Regions from separate parts of the Homo sapiens genome. Here all the other regions are linked to region 2. Evidence: promoter capture Hi-C in 16 types of primary human blood cells and fetal thymus (Javierre and others, 2016). All regions are on one chromosome and are shown on one strand. Each heading gives the region's core, a stretch centred on a gene start or on the middle of the fragment in contact. The rest is flanking DNA. Distances are from core to core; before and after follow the strand shown.

Evidence for each region. Contacts are between HindIII fragments. The CHiCAGO score rates a contact against its expected background, and 5 or more counts as called.
Region 1: a fragment that was not itself captured here is called in contact with the fragment with the promoter of ATOSA in region 2 in 1 of 17 cell types (M0 macrophages); the score reaches 7.4 in M0 macrophages.
Region 3: a fragment that was not itself captured here is called in contact with the fragment with the promoter of ATOSA in region 2 in 1 of 17 cell types (M0 macrophages); the score reaches 5.4 in M0 macrophages.

Annotation. Positions count from the first base shown.
Region 1 is chr15:55,268,873-55,271,572 of GRCh38, forward strand. It overlaps RAB27A (RAB27A, member RAS oncogene family), which reads right to left. Exons shown (of 7, transcript NM_183235.3): 2 at 1,293-1,412. Among named protein-coding and RNA genes, the nearest start is that of RAB27A, 20 kb to the right of the region's middle. The HindIII fragment of the contact is 676 bases long and covers 934-1,609 here.
Region 2 is chr15:52,678,049-52,680,748 of GRCh38, forward strand. ATOSA (atos homolog A) reads right to left here and starts at 1,340. Exons shown (of 13, transcript NM_001385016.1): 1 at 780-1,340; 2 at 1-74. It overlaps LOC105370821 (a long non-coding RNA gene), which reads left to right and starts at 1,557. Exons shown (of 4, transcript XR_932255.4): 1 at 1,557-1,645. RefSeq lists enhancers at 36-105, 236-375 and a silencer at 956-1,275. The HindIII fragment of the contact is 2,387 bases long and covers 1-1,986 here.
Region 3 is chr15:55,394,250-55,396,949 of GRCh38, forward strand. The region is part of intron 1 of CCPG1 (cell cycle progression 1); the gene reads right to left. All of the region lies in intron 8 of DNAAF4-CCPG1 (DNAAF4-CCPG1 readthrough (NMD candidate)), which reads right to left. Among named protein-coding and RNA genes, the nearest start is that of CCPG1, 13 kb to the right of the region's middle. The HindIII fragment of the contact is 2,224 bases long and covers 226-2,449 here.

The DNA.
Region 1 (2,700 bases), core at 22-2,521, 2.6 Mb after region 2:
TTTGGAGCTAGGACCTTTATAGAGGGAATCAAGTTAAAAAGAGGTCATTAGGGTGGGTCCTAATCCACCCTCATGGTCTCTTCACAAGAAAGGAACTGGGATCACAGACATGAACACAGGGAGGATGGCATGAAGAGACATAGGGAGAAGACAGCCATCCACAGCTAAGCAGAAAGGCCTGGAACGGATTCTCCCTCACAGTCCTCAAAAGGGACCAACCCCGCTGACATCTTGATCTTAGACTTTCAGGCTCCAGAACTGTGAGGCAATAAATTTCTGTTTTTGAAATCACACAGTTTTAAAGCCACCCAGTTTATGGTACTTTGTTATGGCAGCTCTAGTAAACTAATACAATATCCAGAAGTAGAATTATATAATGAAATCTCCCATCACACTCACCACTCAGATCTTTCACTCCGGCATACTTCATTTCGTATTTCTAAAATATATGGACATTTCCTTACATAACAATACCCTTATCAAACCTAACAGAATTAACACTAATTTAAAAGCAGATTTAATTCCCAGAAGAAATAAACCTTATACTAAAACACACACTTACATTCCTCCATTAAAACTATTAACACTTTTAGGCCGGGCACGGTGGCTCATGCCTGTAATCCCAGCACTTTGGGAGGCCCAGGTGGGAAGATCACTTGAGGTCAGGAGTTAGAAAGCAGGCTGGCCAACATGGTGAAACCCCATCTCTACTAAAAATACAAAAATTAGCCAGGCATGGTAGCGTGGGGTCCCAGCTACTCAGGATGCTGAGGCAGGAGAATCACTTGATCCTGGGAGGCAGAGGTTGCAGTGACCCGAGATTGTACCACTGCACTCAAGCCTGGGCGACAGAGCAAGACTCTGTCTCAAATTTAAAAAACAAAACAAAACAAAACAAAAGCTATTAATACTATCAAAAACAAAACACCAATAAGCTTGAATTTTTGTCAAACAACCCTCAGAGGATAAGCAAGACTCTCAGAATAATTCAATTTCCTAATCAGCTCTCATATTCAACAATTTCCTGAAAGTAAAAACCTATGTTTCTTTATTCAAGTACAGAAAAGAAAGGAAGAATGCGGTCAGTATTCATACCCACTCCGTGGTCACTGAAAATGCACTTTTCAAACTAATCCCAAGAAATTTAGTAGACATCATTAAGTCTTTAGTTTAAAAACAGTACGTGCAATGGTATTGTATGTTATATTGCACATAATTTAAGCGCATGAAAATTGACATGACAGAGCTCAAAACCACTACCAAAAAAAAAAAAGATAAATACAAAACCATACCTTTACAGGGTAGAGAACCGCTTGTTATGATTTTCTAAAACGTTAGAGACTGGAGTTACCAATGCTTCAACAATTGACAACTTCCAATCACATGTCCTCTTCAGGAAGGTTACTTTTTGTCTAATGTTAAGACAAAGAGAAATGTTAAAGTCAGAATGGCCTACTTAAAAAGTTTTTCAAAAGAGTCTTTGGAAAAGCAGTTCGCTCCATCAACTTTCAAAACAGGCATCGCTGTAAAAACCCACAATCCAGCTAATTAGTCTCAGCTGTTTGTCATATGGCACTGCAGACCAGTCAAGTGATTTTTGCCCCTTTCAAGCTTACCAAGTTCCAGTTCGACTGGCCACTCAGAGGGCGGCTTTATTAACCTCTTCTGGTGTTAGAAGACTCTGCACTTCAGCTCTTTCTTCCGCCCACCTACCCCGTGAATCAAAACAGTAGAACATTTGTTTTCTTGAGAAAGTGCCTTGTATTCTCAAGGCCCTTAAAGGTTATATTCATATTGTTGCTTACAAATACAATGCCTGATCCAAACAAACAATATGGGGGATCAAATGGAAGTGGCAGGAGGGATGGGGCTAGATTACTTACCAGACCTTGCAGCTGGCCTCCAATTTCATAAGTAAAACTGCCTACAAGGGAGTCCACCCAGATATCTTGCTGGCATCTCAAATCCAGCATGTCCCGTACTCACCTCCTTTGCTTTTCTCCACAACCTTGCTTCAAACCCACTTCTCTTCCTGTGTCTTGAATCACACAATCCCAACACAGCCAGAAATCTGATGGCTCTCATTAACTCCTCCCTCTCTGCCCCTCCCACTTCCAATTGGCCACCAAGTCCTAAGGATATTCATCTTCTTGCTCCTACTCCAAGTTTTTATTATTTCTTAGATGGCTATAATAAACCACTTATTTGGTTTTCTGGTCCCCACGTATTCTTGACTCTGATCCATCCTCCACACCACACCCAAAGTGATCTTTCCAAAAGGCAAATGAGAGTCCATCACTCTCCTGTTAATGGCTCCCCACAATCTCCACAATAAAATCCCTGCTCCTTAAGCTTCTGCCTTCAGTATCACCGCCTCCTTCCTATAAGCTGCTAGAGTCCAGCCATCAGTACGTTTTATAATTCGCTAAGTTAAGTGGTTCTCAAACTGTGGTTCCAAGACCAGTATTATAGCATCTTCTAGGAACTTATTAGATTTGCACATTCTTGGGCCCACCCAGCTGAATCAGAAATTCTGAGGATAGGGCACAGGTGTCTGTGGTTCAACAAGCACTCCAGGTGATTCTGATACACACTAAAGTGTGAGAGCTGCTGCTGTAAATCCACCAAGTTCTGTTCACTAAGAGAATCAGCTCCTTGGCTCCTTGTGCCAGCAATGCTGAGCTGGATACACCTTCCCTG
Region 2 (2,700 bases), core at 90-2,589:
CTGTGAAATGCACCTGTGGGTTCTTTCAACAGGCTCGCCGCTGATTCTACGGCTTCTGCTTCGCTTTCAAAATGCTGAAAGAGACAAAAATAAAATTAATCTGGCCCTATTCTAATACCCGGACCTTGCAAGTAAACTACTGTTAAGTTAGGCCTCTTCCTGGCACCAACTGCGGTGACAGCACCCTCGGCTGGTCTGAAAAAAGCAAAACTCTCTGCACCGCCTCCCCCATCTCCTCCGGATCGAGCACCCCCTTCCCTGCCTCTGTGCTCTCCAGGCCAATGTGTCCTTCTGACACAGTCTCTGAACCAAAACAGGATCTATTTATAACCTGGAGGTACAGGCAAGAAGAAGAAAAAGATTTGAGCAACACAAACTAACCCCTTCGTACAAAAACGCCTCTGGAAACAGAGGCACCTCCGCAGGGCTGGTATGGAAATTCTTCCACCTGGTGCCTGGGCGCAGCCAACTCTTCCAGTCCCCTGCGCCTCCCGAGCCCTCCGCCCGCCCCGCCGGGCCTCACCTGTGTAATTACCCTCTGGCTAGCCTTCCTGCGGCAACCGCGGCCAAGTTTACACAGAAACCCGAGTCACCTCCTCCCGCCCAGCCCCCAGCCCCAAACGAACTCTTCCGGGCTGTCCCGGGGCGACCCTACCAACTCCCAACCAGTCCTCCGCGGCCGGCTCCGGGGGAGGTGTTTACAGCCTGTGCTCGCCCCCTGCTCTGCACAACCCCTTCCGTCCCGCCGCGGCCCCGGATTTCCTTCAGCCCCGCCGCACCGAGCGCCGCGTCTGCCCCTCTCCCCGCTGGAGAGTTGTTTTCATGGCGCTCTCGAGCTGGCCGGCTCCTCCGCTCCCTCGGCCGACCTCTGCTGACTAACTCGCTCTCCTCTCCCGTCCCAATCCCGCCTCCTCTTGGCACTTCTCTCCACCGCTCGCCCAGCAGCTCACATCACACTCCCACCTCAGACCCCAGGCTCCGAGAGGCGCAGGGCCAGCGGGAGCGGAGTATGGAGCGCAGCGGCCCCCGCGGCTGCCTCAGGTGACCGTGGGGACCCGAGACGACCAGCCCGAAGCGGCTCCCCGGCGCCCCTGTGGCCATCCACCCGCGCCTCAGCCACCGCCTCGCTCCGCTCCCTGCGCTCAGCCCCTCCGCCCTGCCTGACTGGCACCCGAGCCCCGCGACCCCCGGGCTTCCCCCGCCCGTAGCCCCGGCCGGCCCTCTTGCCCAGCGCCTCTGCCAGCTCCTTGCCCGCCCGCTGTCTCTAGCTCTGGCGCCCCGGCTCCCCGTCCCCCTCGCTCGGCCAGTTCTTTCTCTGCTGTTTGCCCTGTCAAAACACTGCCTAGGTCACGTGTCCCAACAACAGCCAACCCACCCCGGTCGTCACTTCCTCCCCGGCGGCCTCCGCGGCCCTGGCGCCCGGTTACTATGGCAATGCCGCCGCTCGCCCCGGGGCGCTAGTTTGGGGCCGGGTTTTCGGTGCAGGTGCCCGGCGGGTGCGAGGGCGCTGGAGATGGCGGCTGGGAGACACCAGCAGAGTCCCGGAAGCCCGAGACGTCCCAGGCACTTCGGTTGCGCTCCCAGCCGGCAGAGGCGCGCCTGGATTCTGAGACCAGGAATCGGAGCTGCGCTATTAGAGCGCAGGGTAACTGGGGAGATGTCATCCAAAGGCCTGCCCCAGACGTGGAGGATAATTATAGTCGTCGTCTCCTCCTCCTCCTCCTCCTCCTCCTCCTCCTCCTCCTCCCCCCTCCCCCTCCTTCCCCCCCTCCTCCTCCTCCTCCTCCTCCTCCCGGGATGCTGGCACAGAGTTGTGATCGAGCCCCAAGTGGATTGCAGCGCATAATGGAACCCGGGTTTAATGTGACCGGGACGGGGGGTGGGCAGCTATGCGGGTCAGGGAGTGGGAGAATTTAAGAACAGGAAGCCCACCCCCACCCTAGATTTTCCCAAATCACTAAGGATTTTAGTAGGATTCAGAACCCAAGCTTCCAAGACACTCGCTGTGCTAAAAATAATCTTCATAACTTCTAAAACACTGACTCATGGGCAGGAGGACACTTTGACAGCATGTTATTGTTGGGGAGCTGTAATTTTGTTGTTGTGCTATAGCAATGTGACATGATGGCATTTCATGTTGTGATGTTGTCGTCATTTAAACACAAACAGATGACAGGAATCTGCTGTACTTAAAAAAAAACCCAATCCTAACAAGCGCTGCAGCTATTAGCTACTCAGTCTATAGACAAAGTACATATGGGGCATGAGCCCAAATGGAGACAAGTAAAAATTTGCAAGGCTCTTTGGTTTCATTAGAAAAAGTTTTTTTTTTAGATATAATTTTGCATAAAAGGATCACAGGAAAGTATTAGGACAAGTCTAAGGGGATTTTTTTTATTTGTGCCCTTCTGTTTTAAAATTTTTTTTACAATGAGTCTATTATTTTCACATCAGAAGAGTTTTATAAACTGCAAGATTGGCAGTTCCATTTTTTTGGCCTCAGGTAAAGTTCTTATGAAAAAGGCATGAAATATTTAAAAAGTAACATTTTCTAGTGCTTAGATATGTACAGTAAAATAACATGTACAACTGAAATTGTTAACCTTAACTCCACGATTGTATCTAATCAGAGCGGAGAGAACATTCAGGAGGGTAACATTTCATTTTCTCTGAAATGTTCTGGCATCATGACGATGAAAC
Region 3 (2,700 bases), core at 88-2,587, 2.7 Mb after region 2:
TGCTGGGATTACAGGTGTGAGCCACTGTACACAGCCTAAAGATTATTTTATTAAAGGACTGAATAACCAACTATATAAGGGAGAAAGTGTAGGATAGCTCACAGGTTTCTGGTTTAAGTGACTGGGTAACTGGAAGAATTCTATATGAAACAAGAAGTAGGTGAGGGCTTTGTGATAAGAAAAACTGGCTGAAGCCTAAAAAGCATTCTTTCTCCACTGTGTGAAAGCTTCCCTCCTTCCCTTTGCCTGCTCCCATCTTCTAACAGATTACAAAAAAAAGTAAAATACATTACTGACTTGGGACAACTTACCATACTTGAATTTCTCAAATCAATAAGCCCACTTTAATCAGGCCCCAGTTTAATGCTTTGTTTACTTCCTTCAAGGAAAGATAACATTGAAACCAGCCAATTATCCCACAGAACTGATCTTTATGGTTTCTCTGAATAAATACAGAAATTGATCCTCACAGTCTTAAAACTTGAGAAAGTTCTATTTGTGTTATCTAAGCTCCTTTCTTAGGAAACAAACCATCAGGCCTCCTAGATAGTATTAAGAAGCTGAAACTTACTTAACAGATCACTGCAACTGGACAATGAGAAGCCAGAGCCTGCATGATTGCTTAACTGACCACCTGCTGCCTGTTGACCAACTTCTCTTCCTCACCCCTCTCTAATTCCTGTTTGCCCACACATGGTTACATTTCTTCTCTGCTATATAGACCTCTAATTTTAGTCAGTCAGAGATGGATTTGAGACTGAGATGGATTTGAGACTGATCTCCCATGTCCTTGGCTGCAGCACCCAATTAAAGCCTTCTTCCCTGGCAATACCCGTCTCTGTGATTGGCTTTCTGTGCGGCAAGCAGCAGGACCTAGACCAAACCCCTGGTGTTTTGGTAACACCATCCAGCCCAAAAGAGAAAAAGATTTCCCGCTGGCCCTAACACCACCATGACAATTTGGATAAGCAAAACTAACAGGCTTACTAAAGAACCCTATTAATTCAACTGTTCTCAAAATGTTGGGCGTGTACTACAATCAAAGGAAAAAAAAAAAAGTAACTTTTTAAGCCCTATCCTAGACACAGTGAATATGAAAGCCCCCTGGCAGTTTGAACCTCCCCATTATAGCTAGAGATCTTCAAATGATAATCTCATTATGTAATTCCTTTAAAATGTTAAGATTTTCTTCAAGATAATGCCCCAAAGCCTTGAATATCAAGTATTTTATCTCTAGCTCTCATCTCTTTTAATTCATTCCCGCTTTGCCCAACCTTCTCAGTTCCCCTCAAAATGCTTGGCTTTGTCTTTACTCCAGGGCTTTACATATTCTGATCAGTTGCCCATCCCCTTTACCTCCACCGAAACTCCTCTGCTTGTCTCAGCTAACGGTTCATTTCCTTTGAGAACCATCCCTTGACCCCATCCCTAAGACTCTTATTATTTTCTGCATCTGGCACTTAATATAGAATATTGTGCTGTAATTGCTTGTTTACCAGCCTATAATGTATTCCCAACACATATTGAATGAATGCTAAATACATATTAAGCAATCAATAAACAAGAAAGGTAACCACGTCTGGGTGATAGTGCAGTTAATTGTTCTTTACAGAACTCAAAATTAGGCTGGGTGCGGTGGCTCACACCTGTAATCCCAGCACTTTGGGAGGCCAAGGCAGGCAGATCAGGAGGTCAGGAGTTAAAGACCAACCTGGCCAACATAGTGAAACCCCATCTCTACTAAAAATACAAAAATTAGTCGGGCATGCTGGCGTGCGCCTGTAGTCTCAGCTACTCAGGAGCCTGAGTCAGGAGAATTGCTTGAAACCAGGAGGTGGAGGTTGCAGTGAGCCAAGATCGCACCACTGCACTCCAGCCTGGGCAACAGAGCAAGACTCCACCTCCAAAAAAAAAAAAAAAAAAGAACTCAAAATTCTGGAGAAATCCATGAGCTTCCTCTCCCATTAATCTGACCATTGGTAAATGTATAAACCCTCCCCATTTTAAGAGCTTTACTAATAGTAATTTAGAAATAAGCAGAATTTACAGGACAGTTACAAAGGCTAAGAAATCATACGGTTATAAAAAGAAGAATACTTTGTGAAGACAATAAACTTGAAGCTCTGTTTAGGCTCAGGCTTCCTTTTATTCCTCAGAGTAGTTTCTTTAACTCGATCTCTAGTCATATATTTCCAATTGCTTTTGATGTCCCCTTGCAGGTTTCTCAAGTGTTTAACACACAACAGCTACAATACTGAAATCATCTTCCTGCTGCTCCTATTTCTGCTAACTCACAGAATTGCAGTAGCCAAAAACAATACAGCCATTACAAGCAAGAGTCACCACACATTCAGGTCAAAAACCTTAGACTTATGTCGACAAAAACAGTCAAACCCTGTAAAATATTTGAGGAGATTTATTCTGGGATAGATTTATGCTGGGATAGAGAAGCTTAACTCTAAAAACGATGGTCAGGGCAAGCTTCATTGCTGAAGTATATGTGAGCAAAGATTTGAATGAGTGAGGCACCATTATATACAGTTAACTGGAGGAAGAGCATTTAAGAAATAGTAGCTATAAAGCTGAGATCAGAGCTCTACCTCTGAGAAACAGCAAGGAGGCCTGTGTGGATCGCCTAGCAGGAGAGAGGAGGAAAAGATTAAACACAAGATAAGCCGGGCGCGGTGGCTCACGCCTGTA